Regions from separate parts of the Homo sapiens genome. Here regions 2, 3 and 4 are each linked to region 1. Evidence: promoter capture Hi-C in human tissues and cell types (Jung and others, 2019). All regions are on one chromosome and are shown on one strand. The core of a region is centred on a gene start or on the middle of the fragment in contact, and the rest is flanking DNA. Distances in the headings are between cores, read along the strand shown. Region 1 holds the start of CT62 (cancer/testis associated 62). Region 2 overlaps MYO9A (myosin IXA). Region 3 overlaps THSD4 (thrombospondin type 1 domain containing 4). Region 4 overlaps THSD4 (thrombospondin type 1 domain containing 4).

Evidence for each region. The method cuts DNA at HindIII sites, captures the fragments that hold promoters and counts their contacts. A contact is called where the count stands out against the background at its distance.
Region 2: a contact is called between a fragment that was not itself captured here and the fragment with the promoter of CT62 in region 1, in 5 of the 25 tissues and cell types used here (H1 embryonic stem cells, IMR-90 fibroblasts, dorsolateral prefrontal cortex and 2 more).
Region 3: a fragment that was not itself captured here is called in contact with the fragment with the promoter of CT62 in region 1 in 1 of the 25 tissues and cell types used here (mesendoderm cells).
Region 4: a fragment that was not itself captured here is called in contact with the fragment with the promoter of CT62 in region 1 in 2 of the 25 tissues and cell types used here (adrenal gland and dorsolateral prefrontal cortex).

What each region holds. Positions count from the first base shown.
Region 1 is chr15:71,113,567-71,118,529 of GRCh38, forward strand. CT62 (cancer/testis associated 62) reads right to left here and starts at 1,938. Exons shown (of 4, transcript NR_168260.1): 1 at 1,358-1,938; 2 at 65-197. THSD4 (thrombospondin type 1 domain containing 4) reads left to right here and starts at 1,905. Exons shown (of 18, transcript NM_024817.3): 1 at 1,905-2,132. RefSeq lists silencers at 1,719-1,768, 1,805-1,982, 1,829-1,888, 1,919-2,058, 2,209-2,298. The HindIII fragment of the contact is 8,632 bases long and covers 1-4,963 here.
Region 2 is chr15:71,824,838-71,829,800 of GRCh38, forward strand. MYO9A (myosin IXA) reads right to left here. Exons shown (of 42, transcript NM_006901.4): 41 at 3,047-3,189; 42 at 1-2,206. The coding sequence ends at 1,743. Among named protein-coding and RNA genes, the nearest start is that of NR2E3, 17 kb to the left of the region's middle. The HindIII fragment of the contact is 4,731 bases long and covers 1,007-4,963 here.
Region 3 is chr15:71,748,539-71,753,501 of GRCh38, forward strand. It overlaps THSD4 (thrombospondin type 1 domain containing 4), which reads left to right. Exons shown (of 18, transcript NM_024817.3): 14 at 1-56. Among named protein-coding and RNA genes, the nearest start is that of THSD4-AS2, 59 kb to the left of the region's middle. The HindIII fragment of the contact is 4,117 bases long and covers 1-3,309 here.
Region 4 is chr15:71,683,407-71,688,369 of GRCh38, forward strand. The region is part of intron 8 of THSD4 (thrombospondin type 1 domain containing 4); the gene reads left to right. Among named protein-coding and RNA genes, the nearest start is that of THSD4-AS2, 5.7 kb to the right of the region's middle. The HindIII fragment of the contact is 4,039 bases long and covers 134-4,172 here.

The sequences.
Region 1 (4,963 bases), core at 688-3,187:
ATCTCAGATTCCCTGTCCTGAGGCAGGTACTCCTGTATGAGCTCTTAAATACTTCTGCATTTACCTACCACCTACTGGTATGGTTTTCTGACTATATTTCATCTTCTTCGCCTCACGTGGAGTTTCTTTTAGAATGGAAAGTTTTCTTCCTTTCCTCTTTGAATCCTAGCACCAAGGCCACACTCGGCACTGAATACCTGTCTCGAATGAATGAATAAATCAATCTTGTTTGAACAAATCTTATTAGTTTTGCTTTTTTAAAATTATGGTAAAATGTACATAACATAAAAATTTCCATTTTAACCATTTTTAAGTGTATAATTCAGTGACATTAAGTACATTCTAAAGTTGCGCAGGTTTTTTTTTTTAAATCAGTTCTAAATGGTTTAAACTGGCCAGTATTTACTAGAGCTGTTAGATCGACTTAATTTGGACCCATGAGACTCGTGACACTCAGAATTAATCTAATCCCATTTACACCAGGTGCCTCCCATCAAAATCTGTTTGATCAAGTGTGGAATTATTTCATCCCATTGGAACCAGCTCTTGAATCAATCAGAACTGGCTCTGCCAGGCTCCGGGCCAGTAGTCGGTGCTCAAAATGGTGTTTCTTTCTTTGGCCTAATCTCTTGAGTAGCCTCTTTCCCTTTTGTTAATTTTTTTTTTTTTCTGGAGGACAATCTTCCCTGGGAGCTCCCTTCTGCTCCCACGAAGCGCTCTGCACCCAGCCCTGGTGCTGCCTGGCTCTGGGGCAGGGAGCTTGCATTCTGCCACCTCCTTCATTGTCCTCTCGGTATACCTGCACTTTCAAAACAACCCCTGCAGGCAAGCTTTAGAGGCAGCGATAAACAAACAGGCTGACTGAAATTTAGGGAAACGCCTGTATCTGGACAGCCTCTTCAAATATTTGTCACCCCCTCCCTGCTCTGGGGAAAGAAGAGACAGTTCCTCACAGTCACTCTATTTCCTGCCTTCCCAGCTCTGAACACCTTGGCTCGAATGTAAAGAATTTGGCTCTGAATTAGGACTCAAGAAACGGGGCCCTAGCAATTTTCCCTCCATTAACTAAACGCGTCACTTTGGTCATGCCCTTTTGGGGGCAATAATTTCCCAATTCGTAAAATGAAGGGATCAAAGTTTGATTTTTATCATTACTAATGAGAAGAATTATTATTTTTTTGCAGCAGGCTTTTTTTTCCCCAACAAAATATTACTCTGAATAAGACAAGAAAGAATCCCGAACGGCTCTGGCCGTCAGGGTGTGTGTGTCTCCTCCCCATGCTGTCTAACCCCCGTTGGAATTTGGAGGGCTCTTGTCCTTTCCCCTTGGCCTCAGAAGGAGCCCAGCGCGTCCTACCTTGCGTGGGAGTGTGTGTGTGACCAGGGCTCCTTCCTGCCCTTAGAGTCACCGCCCCCTTCTCGCACAGGTTTACAGCACCACTTGCCTCGCCCACTCCCCGCTTTGCCTCCGCCCCATCCTGATGCTGCCGGAATGGCTGTTCCAAATGGAAGGATGCCCGCGTCCGTCCCCTGCCCCAGTCCTTCAACAGGTCCCCACAGACCTCAGGATAAGATGAACGCGGAATTCAGGGCCTGGTCTCAACCGCCCTCTCCCTTTTCCTCTCACTTAGACGACCCTGGCCAGCTGGGCCACTCTCCACTCTCGCCCCCTCCCGCCCTCGTGGCCTCTGTCTAGACCGTACTCCCTCCTACTGGGTGATGTCTCTTCCCCTGGGACCCAGGGACCATCCCGTTGTTGACCTCCGGGGTCAGGGGTGCGGATGGGGGCCGGCCCTTCCCGCGGTCGCCGCCAGGGGGCGGCAGGAGCGGCTCCAGATGACAGCGGGAGGCCGCAAGAGGGGAGGGAGGAAGGACCGAGGGAGCGCGGATCCCGCTCTCGGATCGCAAACTCTGAGCCAGAGCTCTCCGCGCGCGCCTGAACCGCTGGCCGCCCGCGCAGCCCGACGCGGAATCGGGGCACAGCGGGAGCCCGTGCAGGGCGGGCGCGGGGCGGCTGGGCGGCGGTGGCGGCCGTCCATGCGGCGGCGCTCGGGGCTGCCCGGCGCCGGGAACCACGCGGGGGCGAGGCGAGGCGAGGCGGCCGCCGGTCGCTCCGGGACGCGGACCGCCAGGTGAGCAGAGCCGCGCGCCCCGCGTCCCCTGCGCGCCGCCCGCGCGGCCCCGACCCGGCTTCCGCTGCCCAGGCTCCGGCTCCCGCTCTCTGGCCGGCGGGGCGGGCTGGCGCGGGCTACCCAGTGGGTGTGTCCGGGGCGCCGCGGGCTGCGCCGCTCCGGGCTCGGGGAGCCAGCGCGCGCCTGGTCCGTGCGGACGGCTGCGCCTCCTTCTCTGGTTCTCTTCCTTGCTGGGAGTCTTGCTCTGTGCTGGCGCCGGCGCTCATCCCTCCACCCTCGACTCTAGGGACAGTCTTAAACTCTAGGGACAATCCACCTCAGTCGTCCCCGGGTCGGGGCCCCGTGCTCCCCGGGTCGGGTCGGAGGGGACCGGCGAGTGCACACCCAGCCCGTGCGCCCCCCACCTCAGCCTCGCCTCCCTCCCGCCTGGGGCCCGAGAGCCGGGCAAGTCTCGGTCAGCGCTCCTTGAGTCCTGGCCTGGGGCCTCGGATCTGTGTGTCTGTCTGTCTCAGTTTAGTTGCTGCAACCCAGCGAGCGCCTGGAGCCCGAGTGGATGGGTTGTTTCCGCCAACTCTGGACACTTCCTCAAGTGCAGCCTAAGTACCTGCGGCCCCTTGGCGCACTTACAGAAGTAGCTTTTGCACAGCGAGCTCACCTTGGAGCTCTACAGATCTGGAAGTTAAGTTTTCTTTTTATTTGAAATAACATCAGCCCTCACTTGGGAAGGGGATTTTAGGGCGTTCTCGGGCCCACCTAAGTATCTGGAATTTGTGGTCTAGTAAGTTTTTTAAGCAGTCCGCACCCAGCACCGTACCTCCCAGCCTCCTTTGCCGTCTTACTAAAAGTGCATGCTTGCTTCTCTTCCTGTCTCCTTTGCGATCTCTACCACGCTGCGCTTCGCCCTTTTCGGGCTATGAGTCTAAAGCTTGGACGTGGGTAGCAATCATTGGATGCCTGTTGGAATTTGGAATTAGAGAAATAGATACCCGAGAGAGATCTAAGGAATCGCCTTGTCCAACCCTCCTTTCACAGTTGGAGGCACCCAGGACCCCTGACAGTCTGAAGATTTTTCAAGGATCACACAGCTTTTAAAATCCGCGTGTCTTCTACTTGATTAATATTGTTGGAGGTGATGGAGTAACTGGGCTTACTAGGGTCTTACTGGGTCTCAATATACAAAGAAGCAAACATTTTAAAAATGTGACTTAAAATACGGAACTCTTCAATTCCTATAGATTTTTGTTGGCATCATAGTTGAATTCCTTTAGAAAACAAAATCCTAGCCCTGAAATTAATGTGAGGAAGCAAGCAGATGGGCGTCCTGGGACTTTCCTATAAATCTCTGCAGGGCTGGAGCAGGGATTTCCCAGAGGTCTGGGCCTGGGAAATGAGTTTGGGTGATCAGGATACTGGAGCCCCTTCTGAATAAGCAACTGGGTTGGTTTCTTGTGGGGAGGCTGGCCAGTGGAACTCATGTGATCTCCTCTGTGCCCAGCACTGGGCGGGGCACCAGCTTGGCATTACCTTCTTTTTAGTCTCCTATGCCATAAAGAAATATTTCTTACTGGCTGTTAGCGAAAGAAAAATACAGCCCAGAGTTTGGGAGGAAGATCAGGGGTGGGGAGATTTTTGACTTGGAGTTTGTTTTTGTTTTTGCCTCGAAAAACTTGTGGAGATTGCAATCAGTTATCCTACACAGAGGCTGTGTATTGCCGTCTTCTCCATCCCCCACATTTCTCTCCATGGTACCACTTTTATCCTAATTGCTGGGAGTCTCAATGTTTAAATGTTCCCAACACTCCCATTCTGTCCCCCACATTTATAGCTCATTCATCGCAAAATCTCTTCCACATTCTTTTGTGATATCTGAGGAATTATTTACCTGTCTCCATTCCCACTGCCCCCACCTTCAACCATGTCCAAATTACAGTAATAATCTCCCCTCTTGACTCCCAGCCACGAGTTGCTTTCTTCATTTTAATCCATCTTCTTTCATGCTGATAGATTAATATTTCTGAAATTCTGATTTCACCACATCATTTCTCTCAAGAAATCACAATGGCTCCCCAGTATTCACTTCTATTTAATTTATCTCCAACAGATATTTCTGAGCGTCTGCTATGTGCCAGGGACTGTTACTATGTGCCAGGGACTGTTACTATGTGCTGGAGCTTACGCTATGAACAAGACAATATCATTGCCTTCAGGGAGTCCACAGGCTAGCAGATGATAAATAACCACCCAGGGGAGAAAGGGAAGTAAAGAAATAACCGCAATACAAGGGGGATGTGCAAAACATCAAGGAGATGCGAATGAGGGAGAAATTGATTCTGCATGGGAGGAGCTAGGGCAGTTACCACTGGGCTTTGAAGCCTAAGGAGGAGTTCAAGGAGATGGGAAAGGCTGGTGGGGAGGGAGGACAGGCCAAGCAGAGGAAAGAGCTCGAGGAAAGACTGAAAGATAGGAAAGTACTGTATGGACACGGTTGAATCCAGGTTACTTTTCATCAGGGCATTTAAAATGTTTCCTAATCCCAGTCTACTTTATTGATCCAAGAGCCATCCCAACGCCTTCCTGCTTGAAGGCCATCCCTCCACTCACCCAGTCTCTATCATGGTCTTATCTGCCCTCCCCACACCTCCCATCCCCAGCTCAGAAATTCAGATTTCCCCTCTTCTGATCTAAATTTTGCCAGGCAGTGTATCCCACCCAGCCTTTCTTGCACACACTCCTGTGTCTCTTCCCTGCATTCTTTGTGCCTGCTCTATGTTCAGCCTGGATGAGCCTCGCCTCCCCAGCCACTCTGAGGTTTCCCCCGAGCAGCCTCCTTG
Region 2 (4,963 bases), core at 2,122-4,621, 710 kb after region 1:
AATTATGCTCCAAGTCTAACCTCTGGGGCTGGCCAATAACCACTGAGGCAGTGGCGTGAGGTTCAGTGTTGTGTAACAGGAGAGAGAGACTCTGCCTTAACAAAAGACTTAATATTTCCACAACTTCAAAGAAGTATGAAAAGGAAGAATACCCAAAATACAGGTTATAGATGGTAAAGGCTCTTTTTCAGAGCAGTGCATGTAGTAGCAAGACAAGATGCATTTAGTAACTTTAAAAATAAACATTTCACATACTTATCTCAAGAAAGGCTATCATGTTTCATTTTTTATATATTATAAATAGCAAAAACAGATTTCTAATCCCACAAATGCTAAGATACTTAAAATGCTATTATAACTCATGTGTATGAAGACCACCCAGTGGTGAAAATGATGTCTTACTAATTCCCTCAACCCAGGGACGAATGGCTCTCATCCCCCTGTCCAGTGGCCCCTCATCTGTGGGAAGAAATTCCATGGGAAGGAGGGAAGCACAAGGTTAAAAAGAAATATGCCTACTATACATACATATTTACAATAAACTTCAGTAACCAGAATATTAACAAAAATAGCTTCAAGTAGTCCTTGATTTTTTTCCATCTATTTAATACTGATAGTCTGAGAAAAGGAAGATAAAAGTTAGTTAGTTAGATAGGTCATATTAAAAACCTTTTTATTTTTTGGCAGCTTTCTGTAACACTTACTTACTTATTCATGCAATATTGTATGTGAATGTTTTTGGAAACTAACTAAACGGTCACATTATTTGTTTGTTTGTTTGAGTCTGAGTCTGTGGTGGGAATCCACCAGCAGATGAACAGGCTCATATGCGGTTTTCGGTTTAATCTATACAAAGAGAAAAGCCTGAATGGCTTAGGATGAAACCTTCATAAGTTTAGGGATCACCATGTCTCTGGGAAACTAAAAAATAATGTAGAAGAATCTGATCCTAGGACCAAGAAACATGAGAACAGTATGGCTACTGACACTTCAGCCCATGCAATGTATTTGGCAGGAACTAAACAGGAGTTAAACCAGCACTGATTACTATGACATCAAACATCATCAAAAAAAATAGGTATTCTCTTCTTCACTGTATAACAAGATATCTGAGACACGCTCTGATGGCTTAATGGAAACAATCACGGTTTTTTTTTGTTTTTTTTTTTTTGTTTTTTTTTTTTGTTTTTGCTTTCCCCAGAATATAACATGGAGTGTTTTTTCAGAAATCTTAAAATAGAGGGATTAGGCTTTTTGTTTGTAAGTAAGTTTTTGGAAAAAAATTATATTCTACCCTAGCTCCTAACTATCCCAAAATAAACCCAAAGGCTTTTGCTTTCACGGTTAAGAAAGATTTATACGTTTTCTTCAAATGTCAGAAATGAGAGGGTCCCTCAGGACAGCAATATCCCCCCTAGTTCAACACCCACCTTTGGGAAGGGAAAAGAGGGTGGGGGAGAGGCAACTACAACTGACCCAAATCCCCAGGCCCTAGGTGGCTTTGTATAGTAAAAATCTCAATTCAAATACAACAGCCAAGGCACAGCTGGCACCATCCCCAGCAGGCTTTCTGCTTCTGCAGGAGGCCCAGGAATTCAGCACATACAGTCTTAGCCATATGCTTAGAAAAGAGGCAGGACCACAATTAGGATTGACTATTGTGGACGAGGTGATGAAACGCAGCCCCAAAGGTGAGATTTGTTTACCACTCTGTAGCCACGGAGGGACACACATCTGCCGGTTCAGACCATAAATTCATTATTTCCAAAGAGTGCTAGCTGTTGGTTGGAGGTGCAGTCTGGGTCCACAGTTTTTCTGCGGCCAGACATGACTGTCCCCTCTGGGGTCTCTTTGGTTTTCTGAGGTGAGTTTTTCACATTCTTTAATTTTTGTTTGCCCTTTTCCGGGTTGAAGGTTCCTCTGCTGATGAACTGAGGCTTGTCTTCCAGGAATTTGGTCTGGCCCAATGGTCCTTCCATTCCCAGGGCCTCATTACCTGAGGCAGCTCGGTAGAATGGAGATTTGGAATAAATCTGAAATAGTTTTCTGGTCCCATGAGATGATGCCGTGTTAGACAGACATAAAGAGGAGACCGAAGAGTCCACGACATCTAAAGAGTCTTGCTGCTTTTTAAGTTGCTTTCGCAACTTGCTGGAAGGTTCAGACTTGCCAGCTGTCTTCAGGGAGCTAAGGGCTAAGCTTCTTTCTAATGCAAAAAAGAGACCAAAGATGTAAATGACAGTGCCCTCTAAAGCAAATCATCATATAATGAATAGATGCCACTGTTCACACATGAAATTGGGTGGGATAAGATTCAGAGGGTCCAGGATGACTTACTATGGGCACAGTCACAGTAAGAGCTCACCATCCATTTCTCTATGTAGCATTTCCGAATCATCTCCAAGGAAATCTGGTGTTTGACTATGCCATCAGCGGAGGCCTAGAACAGTCACTATCATTTCAAAAACTGCCAGGATATGCAGGTAAGTCCTACATCTCCCTGAGACATGCCACCCAGTTAAACACCTCCTTTGTATATGTATATAGTCCCACCTCACAGTGGGGGCACAATGCCTGCCACCCTCAGAAAATGGGTTATGGGTCAGTAAGACAACATATATTGTGATTATTGGCTTTTCTCTGTGGTAAGTACAGGATAAAACATTAAATTACCAAAAAACAAAACAAAACAAAACAAAAAACAAAAAACTCAATCACGTTGAAGAGTTGGTTTGATAAACAATGTATATGGAAGCTTTACAAAGACAACAGGAAAAAAAAGACCTTCCGTGGAAGTCAGGAATCTAAGTAGCAAAGACAATTATATTTCTTATCCCCTTATATTTCTTATCCCCATCCAGGTCACTACCTGTATGCCAAACGATGAAGGCTAAAATTATATGGATAAAAGGACAAAATTCCTCAAGACTTTGTTATTGCTGATGTACAGTCAGTAAATTCTTAAAAGACTTTGTCTTAGTTTTGGAATCTTTATTCCTCCTTTGCAAAACAAATCTGGAGTCTTTGGTCTACCATGTTCACTTACCTGATTTCTCAGAGATAGCATATTCAGACTCCATATTCAAATTCTCTGAGCTATCAGCAGTCCCAATGGAGGCCTCAGACTCAAGGGTTTCATCATCAGAGGCACGGGGTTCCAGTACAAGCATCTCAAATGTTAGCTCCTCCCTGTAAGACACAATCAAGAAACCATTAGCATTTGATAGGAAGTGGAAGGAAGATAACAGAAAAAAAGATCCTCCATGGAAGTCAGGAATCTAAGAAGCAAAGAGAGTCCATTTTTACTGTCCCCATCCAGGTGGTGATGAGGACCTGTATGCCAAATATGGTGAAGGCTAAAACTATATGGACTAAAGGACAAAATGACAGATAGCCAATCTAGGACCAATAATAGGGGTAAGGGTAGGGTGAAGAAAGATGTAGTGGTGAGATCTTTCAGTAAAATGAACTCTGGACTGATAAGCAGGAGATCAGGGCTCTAACCTTGTTCATAATATCCATAATGCATCAGGAAAGTACCTTTCTCTTCTGGACCTCAGCTTCCTACCACAAAACAAAGAGATTAAACTAGATAACCTCTAAGATTCCTTCCAGCTCTTAAACTATTTTCCATGAAGCTTACTAACTGGCTATAGACGATACCCTCTATCTTCACCACAGAGACCTCTAGACGAAGAAAAACACTGATTGATCTTTTCTGTCCTTTGAAGCTTATGCCATCTTCAGTTGTCGTATTCTCTAGTCTCCCTTCTTCATCACGGTCACCCAGCTACCTCTCAGTAATGCCCCACATTCTGTGAGGTCTTTGGTACTCAGATCCTAATCTTGCTTTTTCACTAATGCCTGACATCACCTGATCTATTCAATTAATATCTTTGTAAAAACTCATCTGAATATTCTAACACTGAAGTTCCTTTATGTCTGCAACTTCTAACAATATTCTCCTCTACTTTATCTAAGCTACTTTCTCCAATGCACAGATCCTGGAGCTTGTCATTACTCTGAATCCAACACTCCACCCTGTTCACAACCTCCTTATCCTTCCAATTCTTACTCACCTTCTAATCAAGTCTCTTCCCTAACAGAGCCCCTTACCTTTACTTCCCCTTTACCTGGCTTGAGATCCATGAACAATCATTTCAAGAACAGTATCACCAGCATTACAATTGTCTGAGGCCATGTGCATTCTGAGACTCTGCTCGTTCTTCTTTCTTTTTCTAGAGACTCTCCCCTTCCTTGAAAATTCCTATTAATCCTTCAAGACTGCCAATATCATCTGCATCAAAGCCAAACTGGGTCTTCTTTTCAGATCACTCTTCTAGCAAATAGCCCCTGGTCAATGTACATCATCTTTGCCTTATCATGTTTTTTACAGCTGAGCCCCAGCTGCTTTTTTAGCTGGCCTATATTCCAGAATCAATCATGAGAGACCAAGAAAGTATTTTAACAGTCTTATATCCCCTTATAAACCAAACTCAAGACCTGGGATCCTGGAACTCAGGAATAAAGATCCCATTAAGACTTCCTAAGAGTCATCAATGTCGACCAGAACTATTACACAGCACCTGTAGGGAGAACCATGGCACGTTCATATTATCCCCAAGGCATACTGTCACCCAATCCCTGCAACAGTGATGAATGGAGGTAAAAGAGCTTCTCATTTGTCTCTCTCCTAAATTGCAACCAATTTCCCTATCTAGTATCCTAGCACCCTCTAGGGCTATAGCCTTACTATGACCATCTAGTTGCTGTTCCCATGGTCATATGGATCTTTGGCTAATAACCTTCCTTCATGGATTTGTGAATAATGCCCATTCTTGAAAGGGACTTTGGCTTAGCCTAAGAATTCCTTCTCTTCTTTGCAAAATAAATCTGTTCATGGAGGCTGGTCTCCGACCTGTTAGGACTCCAGTACCTCATCTTGGCTCCCCACTGTTACTGC
Region 3 (4,963 bases), core at 1-2,500, 630 kb after region 1:
ACTGCGACATGGGACCCTGTGCCAAGAGCTGGTTCCTCACCGAGTGGAGCGAAAGGGTGAGTGTGATGGCGGGCAGAGCGCCGGGGACCGAGGTCTGCCAGGTGCCTCCAAAACCACACAAAGATGAGTCACTAGCTCAGAATCCCAAGACTGATTTCTGGCTCTGGGGGGAAAAAAAAGGCCCAGAGAGGAATTATCGTAGGCTTTCTATCCTTATGTGAGGACTGAGGGTCTCCAAAGGTGAGGAGGGTGTATGCAAAACTTGATTGAATTCTCCTTAGCACTCCATGTGGTCACTCCATAATACTAGGTGAAGTGAATCATTACATCCCATCGTTCATATGTCTTGTAAGTGCCTGGTGTCTCATAGACACTCAGCAATGGCAGGCCCCTCTACTGCTTTTTGCCAACTCAAAACATCCCACACCCCGTTCCCTCCCCAGTAGCCTGGCCTCCCATGGGAAGTCTCAGGTGTCAAAGAATAACTCAAAGGCATATATAGTCAACCATTAGCCCACCAGTTACCTGGATATAAGGGAAAACAGTCATATATTAAATTCATCCATCAAAGGCAAAAGGAGGATTTATATGAAAAGGGGTTTCTGCAGATGGAGTGATGTTGGTTACACAACAGCATGAATGCACCTAATGCCCTGGAGGTGTGGGCTTAAAAGTGGTTACGATGGTCAATTTCATGCTATGTGTATTCTACCACAATCAAAAATGAAGTTTGAGAAAAGACACTAAACAAATTGTAGAACATACCTTGGGACAGGGAGAAGAAAAGAGGAAGGAGATAAGGAATTGTGCTTCCTTTCCTGGTGGGATCGGCGCATTGGCGGGCATGGGATGGCCAGTCAGAGGGTTTGCCCAGGGCAGCTGCACAGCTGTGAGAGGCACCAAGTCCAGATTCTGGATTCTCTAGGAGATCTAGGGAGTTTACCTGGGATGAGGACATGATTGGCTATCTCTGACCTTGGTTAGCGGCCTACCTCTCGGATACACTAGTTCTGCCCCACTTCCCTTGCTAGAATCCCGTGCGTACACGTTACCTGTGAACCGCATTAAAGTGTAGGTCTGAGGCAGCAGGTGTGGGGAGGAGCCAGGGATTCTACATTTATTTTCTTTCTTTTTTTTAATATTTTTATATTTTTAAATTTTTATTTATTTATTTATTTATTTATTTATTTATTTATTTTGAGACCGGGTCTCATTCTATTGCCCGGGCTGGAGTGCAGTGGTGCAATCTCAGCTCACTGCAGCCTCGACCTGCTGGGATCAAGCAATCCTCCTGCCTCAGCACCCCCTGCCCCCCTCCCGCCAACGTAGGTGGGACTATAGGTGCGCGCCACCACCCCGGCTAATTTTTTGTATTTGTTTGTGGTTTCACCATGTTGCCCAAGCTGGTCTCAAACTCCTGGGCTCAAGTGATCTGCCACCTCGGCCTCCCGAAGCCCTGGAATTGTAGGCATGAGCCACTGTGCCTGGCCACAGCCTACATTTCTAATAGGTTCCCAGGGTCTCTGAGGCCACTGGTCCAAGGACCACACTCTGAATAACAAGGCCATAAAAAAGACAGAGGAGCCCAGCCATGTTCTTGGATCTTAGGAGACACGATGCAGCCCATGAGCCCCCACCCCGTCCCCACTCCCAGCATCATGAGAACAACAACCATAGTATCTCAGACTCAAAGAAGGACCCTTTCACGCAGTTTGGGGATATCAGCAGACATGCCCCATACGGCCACATTGGCTGACTCCAACTGGTCAGTGTCCATTCTGACCGGTCAATGGCCACCATGCACCTGTTATTGAGTATTTTGAATATCACCCCTAGAGGTGTTCACATAGGTTTTCTCTCCCTCTGCGGTGTAAGATGCCCCTTCATTTTGTCCCTCTATCACCATAACAATCCACTTCCACAGGGAGTGTTATCCAGAAAGAGAGGAAGGACAAACCTGCAAATGCAGCCTTCACTCCACCTCCAGAGATGGTCCTGGAGATTCTTACCTAGCGGCTCATCTTCTTGTGTGTTCCCCACACCTCATGGCATATGGCCCCTGCCCCTTAGGCCCACGATGGCCCCAGATGGACAGCCCTTGGTGCAAATACTGAGCTTCCAAGATGAGCATCTGACTGTGCCCCCAGTCCCAGGAGCAGACACTAATTTGGCCATCTGGGAGGCTCTAACCAAAGAGAAACAGATGGAGAGTAAGTGCTGATCTGGCCACTGACTCAAGCTTCTGCCCTAAAGCTGAGTCCAGGAGAGCTCATCCTAGTTCTTCGGTGTATCCCTATTTTCCAAGCCTCCCATCCCAAACATTAGCGCATGGTACTGCGGAAACAGTGGGGGAAGGTGTTTGTGAGCTCAGCCTCCTTGCCAGCATGAGGAATCCTCTGCAGTGCCCCTGACATAGGTCACAGCTCTTGCCCAAACCCTTTATCAGAAATTCACCCTGTGTCCAGACAATTACATCTATTTCTTGTACAGCTCAAGGTGTCAAGAGGTCTCCTTTTACAGTTAACCAAAGTGTTTCTTACTAAGTCCCACTGTCCTTTAGAAAAGGACAGCCCTACAGCCATTGGGGAACCCCTTCCACTTTCTCCAGGCTAAAAATATCTAGTTTCCTCAACTAATCCTTTTGTGCTTCAGTTTCTGAACTCATTCGTGTTCTCAGTAAACTTGATGGATTTCCTGTATCAGCAAATGGATGAAAAGAATGATGCTGGACTTTCATTTTTATATTGGAATGATTCTTTTTCTTAAAAATGTTGGCTTTTTTCTGGTTAAAAAGTAACACAGTATTGTTTTAAGAATATGAGAAATTTGGAAAAGTATGCTCCAAACCTCTTCACCAAAAGAAAATTTGAGATTAAGCTATACTTCAAGTTTTTTCTTCTCATACATACTTTACCTACATAGCTTTTTTTCCTCATACGTATTTTAAAGATATAAATGTATCTTTATATCATAATGTATGTATAATTTGGTCACCTCTTTTCACTTAATTATTATAAGCATAAAATCTTTAAAACATGATTTTTATTATAATAAGCTATAGAACTATATAACTGAAACAATCTCCTATTTCTAAATGTTTGGGATTTTCTAGTTTTTATTTTTATTTTTATTTTTATTTTTATTTTTGAGACCAGGTCTTGCTCTGTTGCCCAGGCTGGACTGCAGTGGCACAATCATGGCTCACTGAAGCCTTGACCTCCTGGGCTCTAGTGATCCTCCCTCCTCAGCCTCCTGAGTAGCTGGGATTACAGTTATAAGCCTCCATACACGGGTGATGTTTTACTGTTTAAAACAGAATATTTTAAAAGACTTCAGTAAGTGTTCTTGTGCATAAATCTTTATATGCACCTCTTCTTATCTCTGTAAAATAGTGGGGGCGTGGAATCATGTTAAATTATGGGAAAATATTATGAATGCTTTTTGAACTCTTAATACATTTTAGCTAATTGTTCTCCAGAAAGATTATTTCGGTGTAGTCTTCCAAGCAGCAACTGAGAGCGCTTTTACAGTCATTTTGTTGCCATGATTCTTTAGTTTGTAAATTCCATGTCTCTACATTTGCCACTCTCTGAAAAGGCAGGGGGCACAGAGCACAATACGTACAGAGAAAAAACAACTCTGTGGGGAAAATAGCTGCAGTGGTTCATTCCTCTGTGTGTCTCCCACATTTATTTAGAACAGTAAAAAGCTACATGTAAATTTTCCAAAGATTTCCACTCTACCTATTTCCTCTCCAATAATGACTTGCAGATTTCCCCTTAAAGTAATTTTGCTTTGCATTTCAACATAAGTTCTTGCCGAATCTAGCTTGGCTTAAAATTATAAATAGAGCAAAGAATGAGCACTTTATTCTATTCAGGGAACTCTTTCGTTCGTTTTGGAAAAGATGTTCTAAATCATGCAAGTTGGGTGCTATGGTGTAAGTAAATAATTTTTGCCTTATCTACCCTCAGAATAGATCATGAATTCTAAATGTTCATGCTTATTTTAGAGTAGATGAGTGGGAAGGGAGTACTATTGGGTTTAAGAAACGCACATTGGCTTTGGTATCATCTCCATGACCATCACTTATTTCGTATTTGACCCTGAGCCAGCTACTGATTCACCGAGCTTCAGTTTTTTCAACTGTAACATTGCTGAGTAACCGCTGCAGTAATATATTTGAAGCTATGACCTAGATGAGGTTGGCACAGTGGGAAGGATTTCCTGTGGGCTGCTTCATTCTTCTTCAGCTGCGTGTTACCAGGGGCCTTTGGGCCACCAGTTGGTCTTAGAAAAGGTTCAGCCCCTGGAATGACCAGCGGATGGCAGTCTTCCACTTTTGAATAGTTGCTTTGTGTAGAAAATGGCCTCGTTAAGCTTTAGTCTGAACTATGAAATTTTTTATTACTGGGAATAAACACGTGTTGAGCACCTGTTACATGCCAGTCATGAACGAGACACAGCTTCCGACTCAATAAGCTCAAGAGGGAGAGACCAAAGAAAATTAAAGTTCGCAAACACTTAAGAGTACAGAGTGTGTCTTATTGCCCAATTTAAAATTAATTAATCTTTACCTAAGTGAATTGAGGTTGTAACCCCAGTCTGAATCTTCTGTTAAACTTCTAGGGACACAAAGTTTCTTCTGGCTTAATGACTCACCTTAAAAACATCTTTTCAGCTGCTTGTACTTGAGAGTGGGCCTTATCAGAAGTAAGCATCGTTGACTTTTCAGTTCTACAAATCAATGATAGGTTTAAGCCCATGTGCAATTTTTAATCACAACAGGAAAAAAACACTTTTAGAAAGTCCACCAGCCTTAGTTTGGTAACACCTAATTTCTAAGAAAGTTTTCCAGGAAAAAAATACTGAATCATTTAAATTATAAGAAATGATGCATAAAGCTGAAGTTCAAGAATAGTCATTACAGCCTTATAGTCCCTTAGGGGCCAGTTGGGCCAAG
Region 4 (4,963 bases), core at 903-3,402, 570 kb after region 1:
ATACTCAGAAAAGGGCACACCAGCCCTGATGGCATTTACAAAATTCTACCGGGGAAACTGGAGACGAAAGAACAAAAAGGTAATTTCAGATGATGAGACATGCTATAAAAAATAAAACAGGGGAAGAGGAGAATGAGTGCTGGCTGGAAGAGCAGGCTGCTATTTGAGTTAGGTTGTCAATGTCTTAAGGAATGTGATCCTTGAATTCCAACCTGATTCATGCCCAGAGTGTATTAGATCTATAAATTCATTTGGGAGGAGTAGACATGGTTAAAATGTTCAGTCTGGCCAGGCTCAGTGGCTTACACCTGTAATCCCAGCACTTTGGGAGGCCGAGCCGAACGGCCTACTTGAGGTCAGGAGTTTGAGAACAACCTGGCCAACAGGTGAAACCCCATCTGTACTAAAAATACAAAAATTTAGCTGGGCATGGTGGGAGGTGCCCATAGTCCCAGCTACTCAGGAGGTTGAGGCATGAGAATCACTTGAACCCAGGAGGCAAGGTTGCAGTGAGCCAAGATCACACCACTGCACTCTAGCCTGGACGACAGAGCAAGACTCCATCTCAAAACAGCAACAAAACCATTCAGTCTAAGAACATAGCATTTATTACCGTTTATTCAAATAGCTTACATCTGCCAGTGAAGTTTTGTTATTTTCCATATAAATTCTCTGCATTCCTTGTAAAGATTCATCATAGGTATTTAATTGCATTTTGCTGTGGTATGATGATGATGACAAAGAATGGAATCTGTTCCTTTTTATCTCTAAAATTCTTATCAATATACAGAAAAGTTATGGGTTTTTTTATATTTACCTCTATCTGGTAATTTCGTTGCGCTTTTATAAATTCTGAGTAATTTGAGTTGATTCTCATCGTTTTCTAGTGATATAATCATACCATATAGAAATAATTATAATATTGCCTCCTCCTTTCCAATAGTAATTACTCTGAATAGCAGACATCCTTAACCTATCTCTGATTTTAATGTGAATGCTCCTAATTTTTACTAGCAAGGAAAATGGATGTATGCTCAATAAATATTTTAATTGAATATATGATTACATGCTCATCATTGGGGTAAGAAAGTCTATTTCTAATCTTGTAATCTTTTTTTTTTTTTACCAGGATGAGTTTTAAATGACATTTTGGCACCTACTTACGTTATTTTTTCTTTAAAGTTTTCTATATTATCCTTGAATTCCTGGATTATACCCTGTTTCATCTTGCTGAATGGTTTTTTTAATGTTCTGTTGAATTCAATTTGCTAGGACCTTATTTGGGATTTTTAAAATCTGTATTCCGAAGTGAGATTGGCCTATTGTTTTCATTTTGTGCTACCTCTCTGAGGTGGAGGTTAGGTTAGTGTTCCAATTTTTATGTGCTCTGGAAAAGCTTATATAATAATCTGTTCCTTCAGATTTTTATAAAAACTCACCAATAAAAAACATCTGGCACTAGAATATTTTTGGAAGAAATTACTGCTAACTTGTAACAATTCTTCTATGGCTGTGAGTCTACTATGTTTTCTTGTTCATCTTAAATCAAGCTGGTAATTTTTTAATGTATCTTTTTCATGGAGAATTTCAAATGTAGTATAGAATTACATATCAAATTCACTTTTAATTTCAGCATCATCTGATATATTCTCTTATTTGGGCTTTATTGCTTTTTTATTAAATTTGCTTATTTTCAAAAATGTCTTGGAGACCAGCTCTCAGGTTCTTATGTGTGTTTTTCTTTCTTGAATTCACATACTTCTGTTTTATGATTTCTACCTTGGTTTCCTCTTTTTAAAAAAAAAAGAAATAAGAGTATTTAAATTGCATAAATTCAATGTGTGACACTTCTGTTTTTGCTGTTTTCTCAGTGGTTCTTAAATGTTTTCATCTCAGGACCCTTTTCTCCTCTTTAAAACTGAAGACCCCAGAGAGCTTTTGTTCATATGAATTTATTCGTTAATATTTACAGTATTCACATTTTAAACTGAAATTTGAGAATTTTATATTACTTTGCTTTCAAATAACAATAATAAACTCACTATATAATACAGTAACAGTTTTTTTAAAGTAACTATTTCCCAGAGCAAAAACATTTTGAGAAGAGTGGCATCATTTTACAATTTGCAAATACTGTATCTTTTAATGTCTGGCCTAATAGAAGACAGCTGGATTCTCATATCTGCTTCTCCAATCTATTGTGATAGATTATTTGGCTAAAGTATATGAAGAAAATCTGGTTTCACATAAATATGTAGTTGGAAAATAGAGAGGTAGTTTAGTGGTCTTTTCAGATCATTGTGAATCTTCTCCTTTGATACTATACCAAACTAGAAAAGTGGTAGTTTCTTAAAGGTTAGTTGCAATGGGAAATCTGAAACCACATCAATAAACTTGTCATGTTCTTTATACTCATGAGTAAGAGAAAAAAAGGCAAATAGCATCTTAGAGTTGTTATGGAAATAGGTTTAATCTCAAAGATCCCCTGAGAGGATCTTAAGGACCATACTTTCAGATATACTTTTCCAAGTAAATGGAAATATATCCATTTTTTTAAACTTTTTATTTTCAAGTAATGTTAAATTTACAGAAGAGTTGCAGAGAGAATGCAGAGTTCCCATGTACTCTTAACCCAGCTTCCCCTAATAAGAAATTTTTAAAACTTTATGGTAAAATATATATAACATAAAATTTACCATTTTAACCATTTTAAATGTACAGTTCAGTGGCATTAAGCACATTCACATTATTGTACAACCATCAACAGCACCCATCCATAGAACTTTCTTCATCTTCCAAAACTGAAACTCTATACCCATGATGTGTAAGTTGGATTCACTTATTAACCCAAACTACTTGAGGCATCTGTTGAGATTTACATGCTTAACTGGTTGCATTTGTGCTGTTAATACCTGATTGTATTGCTTTGGAGAGTGTAGTCTGCATGATTTTGAGGGCTGAGGTGAGAAAGAAACTGTTTCTCTCTCTGTCTACTGAATCAGGGCTATACAGTTTATACCAGACAAAAAAGGACAGCTGTTCCCTCCACATAGGAGCACCTTTGTTTTGAGATGGCCAGAGCACTGCCTCTTCATCACTTCATCAGTCTCTGTCAGTTGATATAAACCATGAAATCAGAACACATGGGATAGTGAGAGTAATGACATGACGTTTCACCCACAAACACCATATTGCTAAGCTTGGGTTATAAGGACAAAGGAAGAGGAGGAGTCCCTAGACCCATTCTTGGGGGAAGGGGAAGTCAGTAGTGATGGAGGACATGGTGCACTCTGTTGTTCCAATCTCTGTGGGGGGAAGCAGTAGCAAGAAAACTGAAGATTTACAGCCAGATAGGAAATATTTTAGGCTTTGCAGTCCCTATGGACACTGTCACAACTACTCAACTCTCCTATGCAAAAGCAGTGACTGATTCCAATAAAACTTTATTTACAAAAGCAGGTGGCAGGCCATATTTGGCTCAGAGACTGTGTTTTGGTGACCGCCACACTAAATGAATTCCTGGCAGGGGTCCGAAAACTGGTTAAGACTTAGGAATATCTCAGTCAACACTAGTTGACCATCTTAAAGGAGAGTTCTACCAGCACGCAGATGAACAGTAACCAAGGCAATGGACAGTCACATATCCTGCCTGTTGGCTGGTACCAAAGCAGGATATCACGCTTCCTTCCAACATTTAGTTGATAAAAGTTTCATAGTCAACTCTGAGCATGAGGCAGGTGGCATCTATTAACCCCTAGAGAATAAAAATTAAACTACAGACTTCTCACTAGATGTCCACCTTCTTTAACTGCTTGTTCTTTAAGGACTATTGAGTCCACCTCTTAATGTTGTTAGGTTTTGCTGTTTTAAATTTTATTCTATATGAAAAATTATGCTATAATTTTTAGAAGTTATGGGATATTTGCTGTTAGGACCAGGAAGCTATAACCAGAGCATTATTGCTTCCTCCTGACAGCACTTTCTGTTTTTAGAAAACAGGCATAAGAGACCGTGAAAAACCACTAAAACGGCTGAACTCACAAGCTAACCTTAAAAGCCAGCACCTTGGCCAGGCGCCATTGCTCACACCGGTAATCCCAGCACTTTGGGGGGCCAAGGCGAGTGGATCACCTGAGCCAGGAGTTTGAGACCAGCCTGGCCAACATGGTGAAACCCTGTCTCTACTAAAAATACAAAAATTAGCCAGGAGTGGTGGTGGGCACCTGTAATCCCAGTTACTCGGAAGGCTGAGGCAGGAGAATTGCTTGAACCCGGGAGACGGAGGCTGCAGTGAGCTGAGATCGTGCCATTACACTCCAGTCTGGGCAACAAGAGTGAAACTCTGTCTCAAAAAAAAAAAAAAAAACAAACCAGCACCTCAGAAATTCATCTGTATCAACCATTCATCAATCAAAAATATTTGAATGCAAATATTTGGAAATTACTAATGCAAAGTATGCCAATATGCAAATTAACCTGTTTGTTCATTTTTTCTCATTTATTCATTCATTCACTTATTGAGAGTCTGTTATGAGCTAAGTCTGTTATTAGCCAAGTCTGTTTTAGGCTGCAGTTGTGGCTTCAGTTATAATCTCCTGTAAATGTTTGTTTTGTTCACATGTGTTCAGATGTATTCTATGTAACAGTTGCCTCTACCTTCTATTTTAATGAAAAAGCTCCTTGAGCACAAATCTGTATTTTCCCGTCTCTTCATAATTCTCCACAGTTCCCAACTGCATGCTCTGCATGCAATAAAGCATTTAGCACATGATTTTGATTTATTGACTGGTGGGAAGCCTTTACAAGCCAGTCTTCTGTCTTGAGCCCCATCCAGAATTCTTCTGTTAATTTTTCTATAGTTCCCAAAGGTTACAAAGAACATTTTCCTTTCAGCCTTTAAGAGCTTGTGTAGAATTAGTCATCACTGGGACCCAGACTTCACCCTAAACATGAGTGCATTTAC